2 separate regions of the Homo sapiens genome follow, and region 2 is linked to region 1. Evidence: promoter capture Hi-C in human tissues and cell types (Jung and others, 2019). All regions are on one chromosome and are shown on one strand. The core of a region is centred on a gene start or on the middle of the fragment in contact, and the rest is flanking DNA. Distances in the headings are between cores, read along the strand shown. Region 1 holds the start of OR8K3 (olfactory receptor family 8 subfamily K member 3 (gene/pseudogene)). Region 2 has its middle 5.1 kb from the start of OR5T1.

The links. The method cuts DNA at HindIII sites, captures the fragments that hold promoters and counts their contacts. A contact is called where the count stands out against the background at its distance.
Region 2: a fragment that was not itself captured here is called in contact with the fragment with the promoter of OR8K3 in region 1 in 3 of the 25 tissues and cell types used here (neural progenitor cells, ovary and small bowel).

The regions. Positions count from the first base shown.
Region 1 is chr11:56,310,626-56,317,682 of GRCh38, reverse strand. It overlaps OR8K3 (olfactory receptor family 8 subfamily K member 3 (gene/pseudogene)), which reads right to left and starts at 2,539. Exons shown (of 3, transcript NM_001005202.2): 1 at 2,516-2,539; 2 at 1,626-1,683. The HindIII fragment of the contact is 20,178 bases long and covers 1-7,057 here.
Region 2 is chr11:56,265,542-56,272,598 of GRCh38, reverse strand. No RefSeq gene overlaps it. Among named protein-coding and RNA genes, the nearest start is that of OR5T1, 5.1 kb to the left of the region's middle. The HindIII fragment of the contact is 6,385 bases long and covers 780-7,057 here.

The DNA of each region.
Region 1 (7,057 bases), core at 1,290-3,789:
TATTTATAGATTAAAATTGTGACATAATACAATTTTAGTTATATAAAAAATTTCTGTCACAGATTCCAAAAATGCATAAAACCACCTGCTTCAAAACATCATCCTGTGAATACCCTTATCTCTTCGGGTGGTACAGCTGAGACTTTAATAGAGTTGACAGATATTAGGCATATGAGTAAGAGCAGCATAACAGATGACAGTGGCAATTATTTATATTTACAAAGCAAAAAATATCAGGAAATATATGGATATAGATATATTCTACACTATATCTTAATTTATGTCATATTTGAAAGGTTATTTTAGGCAAATAGTGTAAGTTATCTAAAACTGTTTGTTCTAATATCCAGAACCAACATGTCATTGCAGAATTGTTGGGAAGGATGACTGAAGATTAAGTGATTCAATGTGTCTTTGCTGCCTAGAAGTAGTTCTAAAACATCAAGTACATTGTGAGTTTTCTTCTTCTTGTTATTTGTTTTAATTGTGACAATGCCTTACTTGAAAGAGGTTTTTTTTACATGTGTACACATACATTATTCTGACTATGAATTAACTTCTTTGTTAGGACCATAATGATGCCTAGGGGAGTCACAGGTCAAGTAGGATGTAATACTTGCAACTTAGGGCAGTTCTTCTCCCCTCCCCCAATTCATGACTAAACTTGGGTAATTGGTATGCTATTGTTTTGGATTACTTATCTATTTTTCACAACGAATTTAATAACATTTTAAATAAATTATTTTTATATAAACTTTATTAAAACATTAATCTTCCCATAGTTTTATTCTCAATATAATTGAGAAATGCTAACTTGAATGTGAACGTTAAGTTTGTTTTATCATACAAAATCTTAGGGGAGTTTGAGGAAATCTGAACAAATTGGGAGAAAATGTGGTCCTTCATATTGGTTTTGTATAATGAAAATTAGTAAAAGCTACTTTTTGGGTAAAAGGATACTGTAGATTAAAGAAATGATTAAAAGTCACCTTGTTACACAATAACATAGAGACAAAATGAATACACTAAACATGAGATATACGTGGATTTCTGGCTGTGATTTAAAACTTTTCTGAACATGCAAGCCACAGAAACTAGGAAATATGGTATAGCACATAATACAAATTAACATATGTATAATCGAATAAATATATATCTAAATATCCCCCAATAACCCACAGATTTAAAATATAGTAGAGCAGGAGATGGAGGGCATGATAACCTAAGATAATCATTATTAGTTAAAAAAAATCGTAAGCCCCAATGTTTTTTGAAAAAAGAAAAGAAAGAAAATAGTTTTTACAATGAAAATTATAGTGACAGCAATCTCAGAGTGAGCTATGAAAAAATAAAGACAAGCAATTGTGTTACATTAAATATAAAGATGATTACATATTATTTGAACTTAATTTTTTAAATAAAATTATGACCTACTCCTATCCTACCCTGACTCAATGAACACACCTTTCTCATATTAGATATATGGTAATGTGTGGCAGTAGATGGAAAAGTTAGATAAATATCTTTAGTAAATAAGATGATGAGCAGCATAAATCCTGTATTTTGTTTGCTTGTTTTGTACAGTTTGGCAATTTAGAAAGGCAAATAATATCATGGATAAGTACCTGTTTTCTTGTTAGGTAAGGAAATATAAATGAGGTTCCTTTCACCATCTTTGGAGTTCTGTGGAAAGAACCAGATTGCTTTTTTTCATATTTTGCTGTCTTTGTTGAATATCAATTGCATTTTTTAAAGCTACAATCTTTGAGAAAATAATATCTGCTTTTGTCAACTCTTAGTGGAAATTGAAGTACTTTCTGAAAATTGTATTGTTCCCTAAAACTGGGTACTTAACAGTCTCCTAATTTTATTTTCTTCTATTTTAAAATGTTTTTTTTTTCTGTGCCTATGATTACCCAAAAAGCCTCATAATTTTTAATAATGCTTTTCACATTCGAATGTAAGGTAGCAACCCCCTTTTTGACTCACCAAGCAGTGAGAAAACAATCATATCTACACATTTATTTGAATAATCATTCAGTGTTAAATTATTGTTAAGGGGTCTGAGAGCCTAGAGCATCTAAATAACAAGTATTTGGAAGGACATGAACATGACTGACCAAATAGTTGCAGTTTCTCCATTCTTTCATTAAAAATATATTTATCTCCTTGTCATTGTGCTTTATTTTCTCCAAGTTTTGGCCTCAATTAGAGAAAAATATGTAAAATGAATACTTTAGAAACAATATCATGATAATGTTTCAAAGATGCTTATAGCATTCAGCCTGTGAAACCATGTAAAATACTTAAAAAGCATATGAAAAATGGAGCACCGTTATTTCTGCTTAGGCATTATTGAGTAACAGAAATCCCGGAGAAATGAATCAGAAATTGTCACACTTTACTATGGTTATGTCATCAAATTAAAGTGGCAGTTTTCCAATGTCACTGAAGCATTATAGATATCTGTAACATATGACACCACAAGAAACATTCTTACTTTTTTTTTTTTTACCTGTAAGGAAGCCTCTGTCTTGACTCCTCCATGTGTCTCTCACATGGCACAGTGAGAACAATTTATGCATTTTTTAATCTTTTGAGACTCTCCCTGAGGAGATGGCAGGCAATTTATTGATAATTCCTAAAGCATTTGAGAGCATAACAAAATGTTTGAGGCTGTCCATTAGTTGTAGAAGACAGTTTGTATTCACTAGTGTATCAGAGTTCTCCAGAAAAACAGTACTAAGAAGAGATAGTTAGATGAGAGATGATAGATAGATAGATAGATGATAGATAGATAGATAGATAGATAGATAGATAGATAGATAATAGAGATTTATTATGAATTGTTTTATGCAATTATGTAGGCTGAGGATTCCTGTGATTTGCTGTCTGCAAACTTCAAGAAAGCTGGTGGTATAGATTCAGTTCAAACTTGAAATATTGGGAGCCAGGGGAGCCAAGGGTGTACATCATAGTCTGAATTCGAAGGCTCTGGAATCTGGGATGTCAATGTCTGATGGCAGGAAGCGAAGGATGTCCTAGCTTAAGCAGGGAGTGAACTCACCCTTCCTCTGTCTTTTTGTTTTATTCAAGGCCTCAATTGATTGCACTGATACCCACCTATATTGGTGAGGATGATAGTTACTCTGTCTAACAATCGTAGTCTCTTCCAGGAGTATCCTCACAGGCACACCCAGAAATAATGTTTGCCAGCTATCTGGGCATCATATAGCCTAGTTAAGTCAACACTTTAATCGTCATTACTCCACCCCTTGTCAGCTTGGCAAACATAAGCATGTACTTAAACCATACTTAGTCTCTCTAAACATAGACAATAACAAGGTCATAGTTTTGCTTTACATGACACAACTATCCGGCATATAAATAAAAACTCACTAATCCTTTATTCCAATCAGGACATATATTCTTTGAGTGATACTGACTCTTCTCCTGATTTTCTCAGAGTAAAATTCTACAGTGTAAAAGTAACAATATTTAAATATTGATGTAAAGTCCATATATCATATTTATATAATAAGGTAATAAAAAATGGAATAAAGCATCTTAATAAATACACAGACATATTTATAATAAAATTAGGATGGAATTCTCATTACAATTACAGTCCTCATTTCTGAACTGGCCACATGATTATAGCTGGTATTTATAACCGTCTTCTTCTTCTTTCCATACTCTATTCCTTTTGTCTTTAGCAAGCACCTTAGTTGGCCATGGTTCTTTTTTCCTTGTGAAGTGGCCCAAACCTTTATTCCTGAAGAATGTGGGCCATTAGTAGTTCTGGCTAGTTTGGGCTATTACAGTTTTCCGTATATTATTATTACAGTTTTTCTTATTAATAAAAGATGTCCTAAGGAATGTCCCATATTCCAGGCTTATTCTTCCTTGTATTGTGAAGTAATAGCCCAATTTCCCCTGGAAAGTCAGGATCAAGTGTGATAACTTCCTGTTTTGTCTATTGATTCAGTTGCATGAGGAGCTCAAAATGGCTGGGTAAGAGTCTTAACTTCCAATTCAATAGAATTATTGCTATTTCTCTAGGTGGAAGCATTCATTCCTCTGTGACTAAGACCTGTAGGTCAGTAAAGCTTAAAGTCAATGGAGCAGGAAGCAGAAATTTTGACAGTGGGTCACTAGGGTTAATAGTGAGTGGTGTCTTGAATGTTAAATGACGAGTTAATGGGTGCAACACACCAACATGGCACATGTATACATATGTAACTAACCTGCACATTGCGCACATGTACCCTAAAACTTAAAGGATAATAAAAAAATTAAAAAATTAAAAAAAATAGTGAGTGGTGTCACTCATACTTCCATCTCTTCATTCCTAGGCTACTAGATCCAGTCTATGGCAAAAAAACAGCACAATATACTGGAGACTAATTCAAAGCATATATAGCTTTCTTGCAAACTTTTCCCCAGCTATTCAAATTATTGCCATCTAGCTGAATTGTAATTAAAATTTCAAAGCCAGTTTCTTTGGGATGTTGGGCAGCATGGTGAGTATGACTAGTGAATTCCATGATCATGGACACATTGCTGCACTTCTTTATCTGTGAAGTGAGTTTCTTGATATATGTAATGCCATGTGGAATATCATGATGGTACATAAGGCATTCTATAACTTGGAAGGTAGTTTTGGCAGAATTGCTTGCAGAGAAGGAAAATCTGTATCCAGAGTAAGTATATATTGCACTAAGAACAAAATGCTGCTCTTAAATGTTGGAAACAGTGCAATGTAACCAAACTCCTGCCAGGCAGCTGGCTACTCCCATTGGGTAATGGTGCCATATTAGTGGCTCTGTGTTGTTCACTGCTGCTGGAAGATTGGACACTCAGCAGTGACTATGGCCAGGTTGGCCCTCATGAGTGGAAGTCCATGTTGCTGTGAGACCACACATAACCTATGTCCCTGCCACCATGTCCACTTTCTTTGTGAGCCCATTGGGTGATGACAGGGTGCCTGAAGAAAGAGGCTGGCTAGTATCCACAGAATGTGTCATACTATTAACTTGAATATTACAATCCTCCTCTGCTGAGGTCACCATTTGGTGAGCATTCACATGGGACACAAATATCTTCACGTTTTTTGCTCATTCAGAGAGTTATGGTCATACTTCTTCCCTAAATTTCTTTGTCATTAATTTTTCAATCATGTCCTCTCCACGTTTTTTACTATCTAGCCACACCACTTGCCACAGCCCCTGAATCCATATGTAATCATAATTATCGCATGTCTGTTCTCTCATGATCACTTTCTAAGCAAAGTGCATCACCAGGTGCACCACTCAAAGTTGTGCACAGTGAGAGTATTTCCCTTTACTTCTGTCCATCAGGAATGTCCCAGAAAAGGCTTGTAGTGCTACAGTTGCCCACTTTTAGGGTGGTGTCTGCATATGATGCAGAACTATCTTTAAATGGGACTGGAGTCTTTTCTTCCTCTGTCATCTGACCATAAGGCACTCTCTATGAGGCCATGGGTGGAGACTGCGAGACAGAAGATAGTGTAGGAGGAGCGGGGACCATGTGCATCAGGCTATTTCTTCATGTAACTTACTTGTGCCTCAGGGCCTGTTCAGTCTTGAACACCATATACAGCAGTCACTTGGATACCTATTTTTTGCTTTTTGTGGTTTCAGTTACCTGCATTCAACTGTGTTCCAAAAATGTTAAAGAGAATTTCCAGAAAACAACTCATAAGTTGTAAATTACATATCATTCAAAATAGCACAATAAATTCTCACACTTTTTCACTCTATCTTACCTAGGGCGTGAATCATTTTTTGTCCAGTTATCCACAGTGTATATTTTCCTTGTCTGTTCCACTTAGTAGCCATCTTGGTTATCAGATGACTGTCACAGTATTGCAGTAACTGTGTTACATAACCGTTATTTTACTTAATGATGTCCCATACTGCAAGAGTTATGATGCTGGCAATTCAGATATGTCAAAGAGAAGGCATAAAGTGCTTCCTTTCTTTCAGTGTAAAGATGAAAGAAAAAAAAAATCCTATGCTAAGGTTGCTAAGAGCTGCAGTGAGAACAAATCTATTTGTAAAATTATGAAGAAGGGAAAATGGACTGTGTATGTCCAACTTTATGGCTGAGTGAGTCAGAAATCGTGCAGTTTATGATGTGTCAAGATAGTCAAGACTTCAGTTTCTAAGGCCTAATAGCAGGCCAAGAAGTGTTTTTTTAAATTTACTTGTTTGTTACCTATTTTTTACACTTGCTTAAATTTGCATTTGTACCACAGAGGACTCTTGATTAAAATATTGTATCTATAGTGCAGGCTCACAGAAAAAATATTGTATATACACGGCAGGTGGTATATACACAGTGGTTTCCTCAAAAAGGTGACAGAGTGGAGATGGTTTTCAACGTTGTCCTATTACTTTACTTAAGAATTTTACATGGAATAAAATAATGCACAAAGGAGAGGTGTTGCTTTTTTACTCATTTATGTTGTTCCTTTTTATTTCATCAGGGATAAAATTATTTAATTTTAATTTTGTTTATTCTTCAAATAAAAAATGGATATAATTACCCCTACTATGTACCTATAAAAATAAAAAATAAAAATAGTACTTAGAACACAGTAAATTTATTAGTATTAATAAATTATCTTAATATTTATTTTATTGTGACTTACCATCAGGTCTCTGTTTACAAATTATTTAGATTTTGGTTTTTTTCTTTATTACATATTGCAGCATTTCATTTTTTTATTCTGTTTAACCCTCAACTAAATTTTTCTTTTCTGTCTTGACAAAAACTTGATGTTTTATTAATATGTGTGTCCTATATTACTAATGTCATCCTGTGAACACATACAATTTGTGTATGTGTGTGTATTTACCATGCATATATGTTATTGTTATAATTTCATTGCTGTATTTAAGTCACTTTTTATTTGTGATATATCAATATTGTAACATTTGTGTTTCTTTCTGCATTATATACCTGCATTATATCATATATAATTATATAACTATGATACATGTCTGATAATTTTACCTTGTTTATTTTTTGT
Region 2 (7,057 bases), core at 2,723-5,222, 47 kb after region 1:
ACCAAAATCCCAGAACACAGAAAACAGCAAAAGCTGGCGGTGATGTGCAGCAACAGGAAAACAGGAATTCTCATTCATTACTGGTGGGAATGCAAAATGGTCCAACTACTTTGCAAGACAGTTTGGAAGCTTCTTACAAAGCTAAATTTACTTATAATCCAGTAATCATGCTCCTTGGTGCTTACCCAAAGGAAACAATATCCACACAAAGTTTTGCACATGGATGTTTACAGAAGCTTTATTTATAATTGCCAAAACTTACAAGCAACTAAAATGCTCTTCAGTAAATAAATGTATTAATAAACTGTGGTTTATCCAGATAATGAAATATTATTCAGCTCTAAAAAGAAATGAACTATCAAGTCATAAAAAGACATGGATGAAATTCAAAGGCACATTACTCAGAAAAATAAACACATTTCCAACACCTAGTGAATGAATAAAACAATTGTAGTACATCCATAATATGGAATACTACTCAGTGATAAGTAGGTATAAAATATAATTATCTAGTACAGGAATGAATCTCAAATACTTCTTGCTAAGTTGAAAAAGCCAAACTCAAAAAGTTACATACATTGTGATTCCATTGATATAATATCCTGGACCAGGCAAAATCACAACAGAAAGCACATCTGTGGTTGCCAGAACTTGGGAGTAAAGGAAAGTAATTGGCTACAAAGTGATGAGAGGACTTTATAGGGTAATGAAAATATACTATAACTTGATTTGCTTACCTACTTGTGTTTATCAAAATTCATATAACTGACACTTATAAATGGTAAATTTTTCTGTTTATATTAAAACTTTAGAAAACTAGCTATTACATAAATTTATCATTGCTTCAGAATAGATAATGACTAGAGGACAGAATAAGGTAGCTGAGGCTGCTGACAATGGTAACGGGCTGCTGGCAACCTTCTAAAACATTATTTTGTTATTTTCATCCTTGTATACTTTAACTCTCATCATATGGAGTTCAATTGCCATCTTCTTGCTCCATCCATGTTTAAATGTGCTGGGCATCTTGACTCTCAGAAGAAGGTACATAGGAAGTTGGTGATATATCAAAGTAACTTTTCCAGGTTCATGCTGAAGGAATCACTCTCTAGCTTTCATTGTGGCCTTAAAATATTACTGTAAAGCTACTTTAGCTCTCAGACCTAAGCCTAATTTATGAGCAAATTCTCCCTGCTCTTCCTTGAGTCCTATAGACAGTCAGTTCTTGCCTTTCAAAGTGGTTCTCCACACCTTAGACATTTTATGTTGCCCTAAGTGTTCTGAGAACTACATCTCCCAGAATTCTCCTTTCTTAGTGAAGCTTTTCTTCCCAATGATTCTACTTGACTCAGTTAGCTTTTTTTTTTTTCAGCGTTTTGTTTTCCTTAGGGAAACAAGGACAAGTCTTTACTTGTCCTACTGAAAGGGTGTATATGCTGCACATTTGTGACATCCTTAATTACCTTGAGCACAGTTTCAATCATTCACGATCCTTTGGCGACACCTGTATTGAGACTGCACAGGGGTTGGGGTGGTAATTCACCTGAAACTTGGAACATATAAAAGCTTATCTACTCTTCCAGCTTGACTTTGCTGGAATTTTCACTCAATAAATTGTCTTTTCTTTTTACTGGTGGAGTTTGAAAATTCACGAATTCCATGTGTTATAGGTACTGTTAATCCTTCCTTTTCCCAGTTAATTCTGTGTCTGGTAAAAAAAAAAAAAAAAGTTGCTGATTTAACAAGATTCTGTTGCAACAGGGTGCTTTGACTCAATATTCTTTTTATTTTCAGGTTTTGTGGTGGTAGTCTTTGATATAATTTTGAAAAAACAAATAAAAATTATCCATTTATGTATTTTTCACTTTCACTCATTTCATGTTTGCTTGTTTATTGATTTTTTAAATATGTTGATGGAGATTCTGAGTTTATTAGTGAAAGTTTATGCCTGCCTTGCATCAGCTTCTTTCTCTCCTTCCTTTTTTCTCTTTCTACCTTTTCCTTCCTTCCTTCCTTCCTTCCTTCTTTCCTCTCTTTCTCTTTTTTTCCCTTTCTCTCTCTCTTTCTTTCTTTCTTTCTGAATGCATTGAGTAGAGGTGCAATTTTGTTGTATGGATATATTGAATATATTGAATATCTTGACTTTTAGTGTATCCATCTCCTGAATAATGTGCATTGTACCCATTAAGTAATTTCTTATACTCCACATACCTCTGACTCTCTCACCCTTCCAACTTTCCACTGTAATTCATTCCACACTCTATGTCATATGTATACATTATTTAGCTCCTGCTTATAAGTGAGAACATATCATATTTGACTTTCTTTTTTAAAATTGTTTCATTTAAGATAATGGCCTCCAGTTTCATCCATGTTGCTGCAAAAGACATGCTTTCATTCTTTTGTTGGTGAATAGTATTCAACTGCTTATATATAACATATTTTCTGCATCTAGTCATCCATGGTTGAACACTTAGAGTGATTCTGTATTTTTCTTACTGTGAATAGTGTGGTGATAAACATAAAAGTGCAAGTATCATAGAACCACCATTTGATCCAGCAATTCAACTACTGGGTATCTACCCAAAGTAAGATACTGATTTATCTTTTGGCAGATACCCAGTAGTGGGATTGCTAGATCAAATAGTCGTTCCATTTTCAGTTATTTGAGAAATCTCCATACTGTCTTCCATATAGGTAGTACTAGCTTACATTCCCAACAGCAGTGCATAAGCATCCCCTTTTCTTTGCCAACATCTGTTTTTTTTTTTTTTTTGACATTTTAAGATTGGTCATTCTAACTGGTGTGAGACGATATCTAATTAAGGTTTTAATTTTCATTTCTCTAATAAGTGATGTTGAGCATTTTTTCATATGCTTATTGGCCATGTTCATTGCATGTCTTCATTTGTAAAATGTTTATTGATATCTTTTGGTCACTTTTAAATAAGGTTATTTTTCTTCGTTGAATTGCTTGAATTCTTTCTAAATTGTAGATATTAGTCTCCCATCAGATGCATAATTTGCAAATATTTTCTCTCATTATGTGGATTCTCTGTGCCCTGTTGATGATTTATTTTGCTGTATGGGAGCTTTATAGTTTAATTACATCTCATGAGTTTATTTTTGTTTACGTTGACTGTGTTTTGGTGGTATTAGTCATGAAATATTGCATAGACCAATGTCCAGAAGATTTTTTCCTAGTTTTTCTTCTTGTATTTTTCTATTTTCAAGTCATATATTTAAGTCCTCCATCCAACTCGGGTTGATTTTTGTATATGTAAATGGTAATCCAATTTTCCTACACCATTTATTGCAAATAGGATTCTTTGTCCAGTGTGTGTTTTTGTTAAATTTGTTAAAAATCTGTTGGATGTATATATATGGCTTTATTTATGAGTTGTCTATTCTTTTCCATTGATCTGTGTCTGCCTTATATCCTACCATACTGTTCTGATTATTACAGCCTTATAGTGTAACTTAAGGCCTGGTAATGTGAAGCCTTGAGCCTTATTTTTCACTTGGGATTGATTTGGCTATTCACTCTTTTTTTGTTGTTCCATATGCATATTAGGATTATTTGTTCCAATTTTATGAAAAATCACGTTGGTCTTTTGATAGAAATTGCATTAAATCTATAGATTGCTTTAGGTGGTATATTCATTTTAAGATATTAATTCTTTTTTTTAAATTGTCAACTTTAATTTTAAGTTCAGGGGTACATGTTCAGGATGTGCAGGTTTGTTACATAGGTAAACCTGTGTCATGGTGGTTTGCTGCACGGATCATCCCATCACCCAGGTATTAAGCACAGCATCCACTAGGTATTCTTCCTGAACCTCTTTCTCCTTCCACCCTGCCCCTCATGCTCCAACAGGCCTCAGTGTGTGTTACTCTCCCCACCATGTGTCTATGTGTTCTCATTGTTCAGCTCCCACTTCTAAGTGAGAACATGTGTATTTGGACTTTTGTTCCTGCATTAGTTTGCTAAGCACAATGGCCTTCAGCTCCAGCCATGCCCCTGCAAAGAACATGATCTTGTTCTTTTTTATGGTTGCATAGTATTCCACATTTCTTGCGTATATGTACCACATTTTCTTTCTTTCTTTCTTTCTTTCTTTCTTTCTTTCTTTCTTTCTTTCTTTCTTTCTTTTTCTTTCTTTCTTTCTTTCTTTCTTTCTTTCTTTCTTTCTTTCTTTCTTTCTTTTGTTCTTCTTTCTCTCTTTTTATTCAGAGTCTTGCTCTGTCACGTTTGTGTACCATATTTCCTTCCCCTCCTTCCCTCCCTCCCTCCCTCCCTCCCTCTCTCCCTCTCTCTCTCTCTCTCTCCCTTTCTTTCTTTCTTTCTCTCTTTCTTTCTTTCTTTCTTTCTTTTGTTCTTCTTTCTCTCTTTTTATTCAGAGTCTTGCTCTGTCACGTTTGTGTACCATATTTCCTTCCCCTCCTTCCCTCCCTCCCTCCCTCCCTCCCTCTCTCCCTCTCTCTCTCTCTCTCTCCCTTTCTTTCTTTCTCTCTTTCTTTCTTTCTTTCTTTCTTTCTTCTTTCTCTCTCTCTCTCTTTCTTTCTTTCTTTCTTCTCTTTCTTTCTTTCTTTCTTTCTTTCATTCTTTTTCTTTCTTTCTTTCTTTCTTTCTTTCTTTCTTTCTTTCTTTCTTTCTTTCTTTTGTTCTTCTTTCTCTCTTTTTATTCAGAGTCTTGCTCTGTCACGTTTGTGTACCATATTTCCTTCCCCTCCTTCCCTCCCTCCCTCCCTCCCTCCCTCTCTCCCTCTCTCTCTCTCTCTCTCCCTTTCTTTCTTTCTTTCTCTCTTTCTTTCTTTCTTTCTTTCTTTCTTTCTTTCTTTCTTTCTTTCTTCTTTCTCTCTCTCTCTCTCTCTTTCTTTCTTTCTTTCTTTCTTCTCTTTCTTTCTTTCTTTCTTTCTTTCTTTCTTTCTTTCTTTCTTTCTTTCTTTCTTTCTTTCTTTCTTACTTTTTCTTTCTTTCCTTTTTTCAGAGTCTCTCTCTGTCACCCAGGCTGGAGTGCAGTGGTGGGATCTCAGCTCATTGCAACCTCCACTTCCTGGGTTCCAGCTATTCTCCTGTCTCAGCTTCTGAAGTAGCTGGGATTACAGGTGCACGCTGCCATGCCGGCTAGTTTTTTGTATTTTAGTAGAGACGGGGTTTCACCATATTGGCCAGGCTGGTCTCAAACTCCTGAGCTCAGGCAATCCACCCACCTCAGCCTCCCAAACTGTTGGGATTACAGGCATGAGCCACTGCACCTAGCCCCTTTGCCCACTTTTTAATGGAGTTGTTTGTTTTTTTCTTGTGAAATTGCTTAAGTTATTTGTACATTCTGGATATTAGACCATTGTCAGAGAATAGATTGCAAAATTTTTCTCCCATTCTGTAGGTTGCTGTTTACTCTGTTGATAGTTTCTTTTGCTGTGAAGAAGCTCTTTAGTTTAATTACATCCCATTTGTCAATTTTTGCATTTGTTGCAATTGCTTTTGGCATCTTCATCATGAAATCTTTGCCCATGCCTATGTCCAAAATGGTATTGCTAGGCTTTCTTCTGTGTTTTACATCTAAGTCTTTAATCCATCTTGAGTTGATTTTTGTATATGGTGTAAGGAAGAAGTCCAGTTTCAATCTTCTGCATATGGCTAGCCAGTTCTCCCAGCACCATGTATTGAATATGGAATCCTTTCCCCATTGCTTTTTTTTGTCAGGTTTGTCAAAGTTCAGATGGTAGTAGGTATGTGGTCTTATTTCTTGGTTCTCTATTCTGTTCCATTGCTCTATGTGCTGATAAGAAGAATGCTAACAAGGGATTTATACATTCAGATACAAGAGTCTCAGTCATCATTAGAAAAATACATTGCAAATCGGACTTTGCCATGCTGTATAGTCATCAGACTGTCTAAATTCAATGTGAACAAAAAATTCCAATGTCAGCAAGAGAAAAGTGTCTAGTCTGCTGAAAAGGAAGCCCCATCAGACAAAAAACAAACTTTTCAGCAATAGTCTTGCAAGCCAGAAGAGAATGAGAGGCTATTTTGAAAGTGCTAAAGGAGAGGAAAAAAAAAAAAAGAGCTGTGAATTTTATATCCAGCTACAATAAGCTCTATAAATGAAGGATAAATAAAGTCTTTTCCAGACAAGCAAACGGTGATGGAATGCATCACTACTTGATCAGCCTCATAAGAAATACTAGAAAAAGTCCTAAACATAAAAACAAAAGGCTGATATTCACTACCAAAATATCACATGGGATTATAAAATTCAGCCATTGTATAAGACAATTACACAAAGAAGGAAGAGACTGGAATTAAATAGCAATACAACAGAACTACACTAAACTACAAAAAAAAAAAGAAAAAAAATAAGAATGTGTAAAACAACTAGCTAAAAATGTACAATGTGACAGGAATAAAACCTCACATATCAGTATTAACCTTGACTGTAAATGGATTAATGTTCCTGTTAAAAGATATACATTTGTGGAATGAATTTAAAGAATGATCAAACTGTATCCTTGGTGATAAAAACACATATAGACTAAAAGTAAAGGAGTAGTCGAAAAGGATATTCCATGCAAATAGAAACCGAAAGTGAGCAGAAAAACTACACTGTATCTCAGATAAAACTGACTTTAAATAAATAATAAAAAAAGAGTAAAAAGACAGACAAAAAGAGTCATAATATAAAAATAAAAGGATCAATTCAACAAGAGTATATATCAATTCTAAATATCTGTGCACCCAATATTGGAACATGAGATGACTTATGATGTTTTACAGAGATGTAAATTTTTTGCCTTCTTTAAGTCTATGGCATTTTTGTAGCTTTCTTATTAATTTGCTATTAATACTCCAATGATTTCAAGTATTATACTTTATTCACTGCAAACATAGCAGTTTATAATTTTAACAGAATGAAAGTGTAATGCATTTGAATGACTGTAAATCTATCTGCTAGATTGTGTGGAAGACATATGGTGATTCAATGTTATTATAGTTCACTATATTTACTGACTCATTGCAATATAAAATGGCTTATATTGCCAGCATGAGGAC